Linked DNA regions of Homo sapiens: all the other regions are linked to region 3. The links are contacts of gene promoters, found by promoter capture Hi-C in blood cells and fetal thymus (Javierre and others, 2016). All regions are on one chromosome and are shown on one strand. Each heading gives the region's core, a stretch centred on a gene start or on the middle of the fragment in contact. The rest is flanking DNA. Distances are from core to core; before and after follow the strand shown.

Evidence for each region. The method cuts DNA at HindIII sites, captures the fragments that hold promoters and counts their contacts. A CHiCAGO score of 5 or more calls a contact.
Region 1: a fragment that was not itself captured here is called in contact with the fragment with the promoter of LDHA in region 3 in 1 of 17 cell types (monocytes); the score reaches 8.4 in monocytes.
Region 2: a fragment that was not itself captured here is called in contact with the fragment with the promoter of LDHA in region 3 in 1 of 17 cell types (neutrophils); the score reaches 6.5 in neutrophils.

Annotation. Positions count from the first base shown.
Region 1 is chr11:16,742,594-16,746,585 of GRCh38, forward strand. C11orf58 (chromosome 11 open reading frame 58) reads left to right here. Exons shown (of 5, transcript NM_014267.6): 2 at 2,008-2,091. Among named protein-coding and RNA genes, the nearest start is that of C11orf58, 5.9 kb to the left of the region's middle. The HindIII fragment of the contact is 3,409 bases long and covers 1-3,264 here.
Region 2 is chr11:20,377,596-20,381,554 of GRCh38, forward strand. The region is part of intron 3 of HTATIP2 (HIV-1 Tat interactive protein 2); the gene reads left to right. Among named protein-coding and RNA genes, the nearest start is that of PRMT3, 8.1 kb to the right of the region's middle. The HindIII fragment of the contact is 276 bases long and covers 2,116-2,391 here.
Region 3 is chr11:18,392,559-18,396,355 of GRCh38, forward strand. LDHA (lactate dehydrogenase A) reads left to right here and starts at 2,005. Exons shown (of 8, transcript NM_005566.4): 1 at 2,005-2,078. RefSeq lists enhancers at 1,300-1,964, 1,611-1,700, 1,965-2,630, 2,011-2,100, 3,365-3,797 and a silencer at 2,861-2,910. The HindIII fragment of the contact is 13,104 bases long and covers 1-3,797 here.

The DNA.
Region 1 (3,992 bases), core at 310-2,809, 1.7 Mb before region 3:
CTAATGAGAATTTAGAAGTGCAAATGGGTCCAGGTTGGTACAAATGCTTTAACTCTCATATGCCCAGGGGAAATAGTGGTTTTTTTAAATATTCTTTTAGTCTTTTACAAATAATTTTTAGAAATAATAATGGGAGATAGTGCAAAACAACTTTATTAGGAATTTTAATGTGAATTTAACAATAGCAAACCGAAATTTATATTCTTTGTTTTCCTGATTTTGATGTACATATAGTCATCCTTCAGTATGCTAAATGTGGGGGATTGGTTCCAGGACCCACCCACCTCTTTGGCAAATCTTGCATACTCAAGTTCTGCAGCCAGCCCTGTGGAACCTGAGAATAGGAAAAATCAGCCTTCCATATACTTGGGATGGATCTGCATTTGGTTGAAAAAAATCCACTTATAAGGGACCCTTGAAGTTCAAACCTGTCTCGGATTTGCATCATCAAAATACAATACTTGAGGAATTTTTGAAACCTATTGCTTACAATTTTGTAATTGTCATCCTTGCTCCATAATTGCAAAACATTTTTATTTTTAGATTATAAACTTAATTAGAATGATAAATTCGGTGAATATTTTTATTTCATTTTCCTTCCAGTCACCTTGTGTACACATCTGCCTTCACCCTTTGTCCATTTGCAACCAAATCAAGTAAATTTTGATGCATAAACATTGTAAAAGATGAGATAAAACACTCACACCTCCTTTTAGAAAATGGGATGATCCTGGCTCTTACTGTGAAATATTGCAAGATGAAGTCCTTCCTGCTGATGGCTCTCCCAGTGAGAGTACATTTCTTGTTTGTCTTTTTTTTCTTTTTCTTGTCAATTCTTGGGTGGGAGAAAAGCCTTCTAATATTTCCTCATCCAAAAACTCATAGTCTGAGATTTTTGCAGTTAATTTTATCATGATTAGTCTAGAATACGACTGCCTTTCATTTTGCATTCACCTTCTTCGTCTAATAATGATTAATGCCTTCTGTCAGTTTTTTCTCTTTGCCATTATGAATGGAAAATGAAAAATTGTGAATTCCCATCGGTGTTCAGTGAAAGCTAAAAGTAGACAACAGGTATGATGTCTTGAAAGATGATGATGAAATACTTTGGACAATACAATGAGAAAACTAATATCTTAAAAACTATTTAGTTATTTTTAGCATAGTTGAGAATAATGAATTATAAATAATGAATTATAAATAATGAACTATTAAAAACTATTAAAAAACAACAGTTTTTACATTTGTTTCAAAATGTAGGGAAAAAATACGCTCACTAGGATTCCATCATATTTCTTAGATTTATAAGAGTTCAGTGGACTCATTTGATAATTGCAAGATAGCATGAGTTTTAGTCTGTTCTTTTAAAAAATAAGTTTTCTCTTTGTTCTTTGGAAGACTTTTAAGAAAGAATAAAAGTAATGACATCTCAATCCTAACAAGTAACTAGAACTGCTAAAAAAAAAAAAAAAAAGGCAACTGAAAAGTTAAAATTTTCTCTCTTAAAAGTTAGCTCACTGATAAAGGCAGAATTTTTAACTTCAACTAACAACTGTGGCTGCCATCTAAGTTCAGAGTACTAGGTGCTCTAGGACCCTACCCTGCGAGGCAGTGGGTCTCAAAGTGTGGTCCCCAGATAAATAGCATCAGCAATCATTTAAGAATTTGTTGAAATTCAAATCCTAGAGCTCCACCCCAGACCCGCTGAATCTCTGGGGCTGTAGCCCTGCAGTCTGTTTTAACAAGCCCTCTAGGTGACGCTGATAGAGGCAAACTTTTGAGACTCAGCTCTGGCTGTAGGAGAACTAAAGGATTCTGCTGTGAGGTAATAGAAAAGGAGTAAATTTGAATGTGATGAATATGCTTAACTTCCTAAGCAAGAAAAATGAACGCTGTTTATAGTTACAACTGACAGGGGAAAAAAACTTGAGAGTTACAGGTAGACTTTAGATTTCGTAATACTTATTTTTATGCAAAAAAAATTTAATCAACCAATTTTTTTTCTAGCTGGGATCTAGCAATTGGGAGGCAGCAGACTTGGGTAATGAAGAGAGAAAACAAAAGTTCTTGAGACTTATGGGTGCAGGAAAGGTAAGCATCAGATGGTGTGCATTTTTACCTTTTCTGTGAAAATATTGCCATTTTTATGTATGCTAAGTAAGAAGGACTGAATATACTTGGATTCCATTTTCCTGTTCTGTGTGATTTCTTTTGGCTTTGGGAAATACATGTGGCCTAACCAAGCACATAAAATTTATATTATTTTTGAGCCACTTCTAGGATTCTCTGTCCGTATAGTTTGAAGACTGTACAGAGAAAAATTTGGTTCAAGGAGGCTGTATAGGAGAAAAGAGATGTCAAAGTTTATGATTTGCCATATGTTGGCCCAGTGGTTTGATAGAATATATTTCTTCTGGGTAGGTTATCTTGTGGGAACCTCTGGCCAAAGTGAAAAGGCTGTCATATTTTATAGCTCCCTCCAGCCCTTGAAGTAGTAACCAGAGGAATATCCTTTATCAAAAACTTAATTTTAAGACTACACTTTCAGAGATTATTTCTATAGTTTGTTACTAGATAGAGAAGTTTCTCTGAATGTGTAGAACACCAGGGGGAAAGAAAACCTTAATTTTAAAAATGTTCAAGATACTTTGAAATGCCTGTCAGTTTGGTTAACGTTAATAGAAGGTACAGTTGACCCTTGAGCAATGTGGGGGTTAGGGGTGCTGGTTCTGCAGGCAGTCAGAAGTTTGCATATAACTTTTGACTCCCCAACAACTTAACTACTAATAGCCTACTGTTGACTGGAAGTCTTACTGATAACATAATTATCAGTTAACACATATTTTGGGTGTTAAATGTATTATATCCTGTATTCTTACAATAAAGAAAAGGAAATGTTATCAAGAAAATTATAAGGAAGAGAAAATAATTGACTCTTCATTAATTGGAAGTGGATTATCATAAAGGTCTTCATCTTCATAGTTTTCATGTTGAGTGGGCTGAAAAGGAGGGATTGTCTTACTGTCTGGGAGTGGCAGAGGCAGAAGTATATTCAAGTATAAGTGGATCCACACAGTTTAATCCTGTGTTCAGGGTCAACTATATAAAACAAGTGCCAGGAAAATATCTATTGTAAAAACCTTTCTTTATCCTAGCAGTTTATACAGGGATCTCTAGATACTTAGTTTTTGTAAGCAAGTAAATTTATTTTCCTAACATTGTCCTAACAGACTTCCTACAAACTAAATTGAAAAGAAATAGGAAAGCTTTTTTTCTCTTTTTTTAAGCACATTAAAATGAAATTCTGCTCTTTGTTTTGTTATGCACATGGGAATACATTCATTCATTTTCCCAACAATTACAGACTACCTACTACTGTGCTGGATCCTGGGTGGTCATATAGATCAATAATACATGTTTGAAGCTATTATGTAATGGAGGAAACCAGATAATAGCAATACAGAATTGTAATTGCTGTGAGAAAGCCATGCACATAGTGCTGTGGAATCACAGAGGGCAGCTAACTCTGGTTTAGCAGTGCAAGAAAGCTTCCCCAAAATAGAATTGATCTGAATCTCAAAGGATGAGAAGGAGTTAGCCAGACTACAACAGTAGGTTTGGGGATAGGAAGAGGTCATGTAAAACACTGAGACCTATTTAAATAAAGCATTTGTATAATATCTCATTAATCGAGATTTCCCAATTTGTAATTTGTCATAGAAAATAGTCTGCAATTTCTCTTGTTTCATGCAAATATATTAAGTCCTCACTTAACATCCCTTGTGGTTCTTGGAAACTAACCTTTGGCAAACTGACAATAAAGTTGTTTCACTGTAACACTGATAAGGAGGAAAATTGTTTTCATTATAGGTTGTTTCAACTAAAATCAGTTAAAATCGAAGTTTCCAAGAACCTATCATTGAAAATTAAGTGAGGACTTAAAAGATTTGTTAAGGATATGTAAGGTAAGTGTTAGTTTAGGGGCCATATTC
Region 2 (3,959 bases), core at 1,004-3,503, 2.0 Mb after region 3:
ACAGAGGTCATTCAGCCATAGACTTTTCCTATGTGAAGTCCTTTTACAGAAGTTCATCTCCTTTCTGCTTAAATATCTCCAGCACTACAGAGATTACTATCTCGTTAGCCAACTTTTTCTATTTTGGGTCAGATCTACTTGTCCAAAAGTCTTTACCTTGAAGTGAAATTTATTGTTATGTAAATACAAATTGTTATCAGTTCTGCCTTTTAAAATAACAAAAATACGTCCAGTCTTTCTTTTGCATTGTAGTTTTTAAGACATTTGGAGATTATGACCCCCTTAATTGTATGTTTCCCAGGCATAACACCTTTAAATCCTTGCACCATTCTTTATGGGTTCCTGTGTCTAGCTCCTTCATGACTGCATCACTTTGCTAAGGGTGAACTTTGCAGTGATATTATACTGGAACTGCACTGGGAGTACTATTCATGCTCCGAACACTATGTTTTTTTAAAAAAATAGGATATAAGATTGTTACTATTTTACCAAACATCCTTATTATGTTGTTGGCTCATGATCAGCCTGTAATATTAAAAATTTCCAGATTTTTTTCACATGGCTTATAGCTGAGCCATATCTCACCTATCCTAAAATAGTATTTTGAACCAGATGAAGATCAGTGAGCCACCAATGAAATTACATGAAGAATGGAAAAGTTTCCACTTAATTGTCAGAGTTTAGAACAATTCTTAAAAGGAAAAAATCTGTTTTCCTTTTTTTTTAGAGTCAAAGTCTTGCTCTGTCACCCAGGTTGAAGTGCAGTGGTGCGGTCACAGCTCACTACAACCTCAGATTCCTGGGCTCAAACAATCTCCAGCCTCAACCTCCTGAGCAGCTGGGACTACAGGCATGAGGGATCAGGCCCAACTTGTTTTTTAAAACACTGACACATGTGGGTTCTGAGAAAGGTTATCAAATAGGATTTTTGCTCTCATTAGCAAGATCAACATTTATACCTTTTAGGAAAGAAAATATACATAAGATATTTCCTCATTGTTAAAGATAAAGGCGTTACTACTGACTCACTGGGTTATAATAATGATTTAACCAGATTTTTAAAAAAATAGCTAACACTAAATGAGCCAGGCAGTATTCTGAGGGCTTTTATGTGCATTTGCGTGGAAACAGGTACTGTGATATTAAGACCACCAGCTGTTGGCTGGGCACGGTGGCTCACGCCTGTAATTCTAGCACTTTGGGAGGCCGAGGTGGGAAGATCACTTGAGGCTGGGAGTTTGAAACCAGCCTGGGAAACGTGGCAAAACCCTGTCTGTACTAAAAATACAAAAATTAACTGGCACAGTGGTGTATGCCTGTAATCCCAGCTACTCGGGAGGCTGAGGCAGGAGAATTGCATGAACCCGGGAAGCAGAGGCTGCAGTGAGCCAAGATCACATCACTGCACTCCAGCTTGGGGACAGAGTGAGACTCTGTCTCAAAAACAAAACAAAACAAAACAAACAACAACAACAACAACAACAACAAAAACACCAGCTGTTAAGCGGCAAAGCTAGAGCTTGAACCCAGGCTGATTCCAAGGCCTATGCCACTAGCTATTAAGTAATGAATAGCCTTTGTCACTAATACATGCAAAAGGGACCCAGCAGAGATTGGACCGTGACAGAGCCTCAGCAAATATTAAGGCCAATACAACGGAAAGACACTTCTGATTTCACTGCAATTGGCCTGCATTACCTGCAGCCTGGGATTATGAATTAGATTAATAAAGGACAGAAATGACAACCAAATGATCCAACCCAGAATGACGCTGAACAATATATAATTGCTTTTACAATTTGGAAAGATTATCTTTCCAAAATAATCCTTCAACTACTGTGTGTAACATTCCTAGTATTTATTGCCTATTTTCTCAGCCTCCATGTGTGTATGAACTCCCCCGCCCCACCCAATTTTAGAAACTCCTTTATTGTTTAGGAACATTTATTCTACTCAATGAAGTTTCAATTGCATTCATTCATGGTGGGCCAGCTCTGGGGGCTTGGATCAATCATGTGCTTTATGGGCATTCTGCTGGTGCCGTGGGGAGACGTGTCAGGATGTGGAGCCCAGAGTACTGGATGGGCCTCATGTCCTCTGTTCTCAGGGTTTATAAGCTTTGGTTTCCTCATCTATTCAGGGTGAAGGTATACTTTCCAGACATGTGACATTTTATTATTGGGTATCATCCTTGACCTCAAGGAGTTTATAATCTGCTTGTATTGAGGGATCCTCAAAGACACCCCCAAGTTTGGTAATTCACTAGAAGGTTTCATAGGACTCAGCATATAGTCATACTCACAGCTACAACTTATCGCATTGAAAGGATATAGAGCAAAATCAGCAAAGGGAAAAGGTGTGTCGGGTGAAGTCTGGAGGAAAGTAGGTACAAGCTTCCAAGAGGCCTCTCCCCATAGAGCTTGCACAGGATGTGCTTAATGTCTCCAGCGATGAACGTTTTCTGCCAGAGAAACTCATCTGAGCCTAGGAATGCAGGGTTTTTATGGGAGCCAGTTACATAGGCACATTGGCCTAGCCAAATTGCAGCCCTCCAGAAGAAAGGCAAGTTTTCAGCATAAACCACATTGTTTGTACAGACAGTTTAGGCATAGTACATGACCCTTATCAGATAGGGAATGGTGGGAACACACCGAAAATCCAAGGTTGCAAGCACAAGCCAGGGGCCAAACTTGTAACAGGCCTTTCTAAGGATAGCAGTCTCAGCCTGCTATGGTATCTCTTTTATGCACACTGCTAATAGAGACAAAACAAATCTTTTAAAAAGCTAAGAAATGGGCTGGGCGCGGTGGCTCACGCCTGTAATCCCAGCGCTTTGGGAGGCCGAGGCGGGCGGATCACGAGGTCAGGAGATTGAGACCATCCTGGCTAACACGGTGAAACCCCGTCTCTACTAAAAATACAAAAAATTAGCCGGGCGTGATGGCAGGTGCCTGTAGTCCCAGCTGCTCGGGAGGCTGAGGCAGGAGAACGGCATGAACCCGGGAGGCGGAGCTTGCAGTGAGCTGAGATTGCGCCACTGCACTCCAGCCTGGGCGACAGAGTGAGACTCCATCTCAAAAAAAAAAAAAAAAAAAAGCTAAGAAATGTGTGTACACATAAAATCTTGTGTATGACTGTTCATAGCAGCATTATTTATAATGGCCAAAGAGTGGGAACAACCTAGATAGCCATCGACTGATGAATAGATGAATAAAATGTGATATATTCATGCAATAGAATATTATTCAGCTATAAAAAGAAATGATACATACTACAACATGGGTGAACCTTGAAAATATTATGCTAAGTGTGAGGAGACAGTCACAAAAGACCACGAATTATATGATTTCATTTATATGAAATGTCCAGAATAGGCAAATCTATAGAGATAGAAGGTACATTAGTGGTTGACTAGGTCCCCAGAGGGTAGGGTACGAGGAGTGACTGCTAATGATATGGGATTTCTTTTCAGGGTGATGAAATATTTTAAAACTTAGATCGTGATGAAGGTTACAGAGTTCTGTGTATATACTAAAAACCACCTATTAAAAAAAAAAGAATGGCCAAGCGCGGTGGCTCTCGCCTGTAATCCCAGCACTTTGGGAGGCTGAGGCGGGTGGATCACTTGAGGTCAGGAGTTCGAGACCAGCCTGGTCAACATGGTGACAACCCCGTCACTACTAAAAATACAAAAATTAGCCAGGCATAATGGCGGATGCCTGTAATCCCAGCTACTTGGGAGGCCGAGGCAGGAGAATTGCTTGAACCTGGGAGGTGGAAGTTGCAGTGAGCCAAGATCATGCCCTTGCACTTCAGCCTAGGTGACATGGTGAGACTCTATCACACACAAAAAATACATAAATAAATAAATAATTAAAATTAAAAAATTTTTAAAAAGAAAAAGATATTTAAAAATAGCTACTTAAATGTCTGTGATGAGACAGGTTAAGTGCCAATTG
Region 3 (3,797 bases), core at 755-3,254:
CCTTCTGCACACCTCTTCCCAGCAGCAGTGGTCACATTTGGTAGGCAGGCAGGGGCCCAGCCCTGACTGAGAACACTGTTGCAAAGACTGAGAAACCGGAAAACACTGTGGCAATCTGCCCTGCCCTGAGGTACTCTGAAGAATCAGTGGCCCACCCCTAAACTTTCCAGCTGTGTGTTTGAGGTGAGAGCCCCATTTCAGAACCTAGAGTGATCTTAGAATCTAGAGTGATGGGAAAACTGTTAGAACATGCAAGCATGCCCTGCTATTTTTTTTTTTTTTTTGAGACAGGGTCTCACTATGCTGCCCAGGCTAGTCTCGAACTCCTGGCCTCAAGCAGTCCTCCCACCTCAACCACATTGGTGCTGGGATTACAGGCATGAGTCACTGCACCTGGCCCCTTGTGCTATTTTGGAGCTGAGGTTAGAGTTTTCCGTCAAAACCAAGAAACTCAGTTATGGATCTATCTCAAAGCTGCACTGGGCTGCTGCTGTAGGTTCAGGGAGTAAGTAAAGCCATCCACCCCTTTGGGCTGAAAGTTCCAGCCCTCTAATTCCCTAATCATTTGGTCTTTCCCATGACTGGCTCCTTCCTGAGGCTATCTAAGACTCCTCATTCATTAACATTAAGTCAGGGAAAAAGGCTCTTTATAAATAACAAAAGACATTCCTATCAGAAAATTCAGGAAATTTTGGCATACTCAAGGGCTTACCAAATATATTTCATAATATACCCCACAGTGGGGAAGTATTGGTACAAATTAAAGAAGAGATGGAGGAGGGCGGGCTAGGCAATGGAATCAGCAAGAATACAGGCCCAGAGGTAAGTATGATAAGAAAACAAAAAATTGAGCTGGGCACGGTGGCTCACGCCTGTAATCCCAGCTCTTTGTGAGGCCGAGGCGGCCAGATCACTTGAGGCCAGGAGTTTGAGATCAGCCTGACCAACATGGTGAAACCCCGTCTCTACTAAAAATTACAAAAATTAGCCGGGCGTGGTGGCGCCTGGCTGTAATCCCATCTTCTCAGGAGGCTGAGGCAGGAGATTCGCTTGAACCCGGGAGGCGGAGGTTGCAGTGAGCCGAGATCAGCCCACTGCACTCCAGCCTGGGCGACAGAGCGACTCCGTTTCAAAAAAAAAAAAATTAATAATTAAAAAAAAAATCGCAGGGCAAGTGGGCGCGCTTGTAGTCCCAGTCACTTCGGGGAGCCGAGGTGGGAGGATCGCTTGAGCCAGAAGGTCGAGGCTGCAGGAAGCCATGATCACGCCACTGCCCTCCAGCCTGGGTGACAGAGTGAGACCCTGTCTCGAAAAATACCAAAAAACAAATAAACAAACAAAAAACCAAAACCAAAAAAACAAGCCACTGACAGTTCTTGGGTATGGTTGAGACTCGAGATGAGATGCCAGTGGGGTGGGCAGTAGAAAGTGCAGAATAAAATGTACATTTGAACTGAGTCACCCTGCAAGGCCTGAGAGGCCAAGGCTTCACTGTGAGTGGGAGCTGGTAGGCTTAGCAGCAGAGGGAAAAGCAGCGTCGAGTTTTGGAGGTCACTCGACTTAGGTAAGAACAGACTGACTGACTGCTAGGCATTTTCTTCCTTTCGTTCAACAAATATTTGTGGAGTGCCTATTACGTGCCAGAAGCTGTTCTGGACACTGAGAAACAGGGATGAAGAAGAAACAGATCCAAGCCTTCCTGAGAGTAACCTCCCCAGGTTTCATGGATGAGGAAACTGAAGGTCGTCCTGACTCAGGCTCATGGCTCCGACCCCGGCTTCTGTGGTTGGAGGGCAGCACCTTACTTAGACTCCCAGCGCACGTGGAGCAGTCTGCCGGTCGGTTGTCTGGCTGCGCGCGCCACCCGGGCCTCTCCAGTGCCCCGCCTGGCTCGGCATCCACCCCCAGCCCGACTCACACGTGGGTTCCCGCACGTCCGCCGGCCCCCCCCGCTGACGTCAGCATAGCTGTTCCACTTAAGGCCCCTCCCGCGCCCAGCTCAGAGTGCTGCAGCCGCTGCCGCCGATTCCGGATCTCATTGCCACGCGCCCCCGACGACCGCCCGACGTGCATTCCCGGTACGGTAGGGCCCTGCGCGCACGGCGCCAGAGGGATGGGCGGGTAGAGCCAACTGCCTCTGGTTCTGCTGGCCTCCGCTGCTCGCGAAGGGATTCCTGCTCCCGGGAGGTGTAGGAGCCGCTTTCCAGAAGCACAGCCCAGAGACGTCTGGGCGGCGGCCCACACAACGCATGTGTTCGGAGCTCGCCGCGCTCTGCTTTTGCTCTAAGCGGGAACCATGGCTTCTGGCCACGCTGGGGAACCGAGGAGGTGGCCGCACCCAAGCAGGGGTCGAAAGCCCGGGTGGATGCGGAACAAGGATATGATAGGCCTTAAGGGTGGGGGATACCTCTGGGCTCGAAATCGGCGGGCGGTGCAAAACTCGAGGTCCAGTTCTCGGAGCCCATAGAGCCAAAAAAGCCTCAGCTTGTCCGGGGCGGGTTCTTGAAAGACGGAAAGCGGCTGAGTACCACGCGGCTTGCATTTTTCTCTTGGGACGCTCGAGAGGTGGGCTCCGTGAGGGCAGCTGCTGCCTGCAGATTATAGGGAGCCCTTTGCGCATTTATTAAGAAGCTACTGGTGTATCTCGGGCTGCGCTAGGCACGGCGCATGCAAAGATGAAGCAGGCAGCATCCCAGCCCTTCCGCACCTCAGACGGTCAGTTGAGTAGGATCCGCCGGTACCAACTCCTCCTTTTAACAAATAGGGAGACCGAAAGCTAGGAGACAGTCAGGGATCTCTAAGTTCCCAGTGAGTAGGAGGCAGAGGTGAGGTGTAGAACTCGTTTTTGCATGTCTCTCGCCTCTAGACGCACCCTTCCCTCATCCCATGCCCTCCCACCTCCGCCCCTACATTAAAGGTAGCATTGGATCCCGGGGCCGTTCAGTGAAGCTAGCAGGTGTCCGCAGGAACTCCCTTCCCCCTGCCAGGCTAGAAACCTTACAAGGCTGTCTAGAAATAGCAGTGATTTGTAAGGAGAGACCCGGCTCCAGCTTGGTGACTCTGGGCTGACTGCCTGCCTAGAGGTCCTCTCGGATTTTTGCCCTTTGGAGTGGTGTCAAAACTAGACGTGATACTTTGGGGATGCAGCCTGTGATATTTCCTCCAGCGAATGCAGTGCAGGGTTGGATTAACAAGGTGGAAAGAATTCGAGGGTTCCACCAAGTAGCTATTAACTCTAGGGCTGCAGGCCTCAGGCCTTCTGCAGCTATTTCTACACTCCCTGTACTGAAACTATTTCTTCATACTGGGCCTGACAGGCCTTTGCAACAAGGATCACGGCCGAAGCCACACCGTGCGCCTCCCTCCCGGTTGGTTAACAGGCCCTGGTTTCTAGTATTGCGATTTAAAGTCTGGCGCTGGCTGCGCGCCAGACCTGGGAGGCTGCCAGCTAGGCTTCACGTTGCTGGCGTCTGCTTCGGGGCATTCATTAGGTCTGAAGTCTGAATCCCAGCTCCCTCCCTCTCACCCACTGAGCTGCATAGCTCCAGATTGCCTCTGCTTACGGGCGGGGCTTCTCAGCCTTCTGCCTTCTGGCCCGATGCCCGCTTCCCAACGGCCGGAGGCCGCTAGACTAATCGGCTTCGCCCTGCGCGCTGTAATGCGCATGCGCACGCGCACAAGTTCCTGGGCCCGCCCATCTTCCGGACTTGGGCGGGGCGTAAAAGCCGGGCGTTCGGAGGACCCAGCAATTAGTCTGATTTCCGCCCACCTTTCCGAGCGGGAAGGAGAGCCACAAA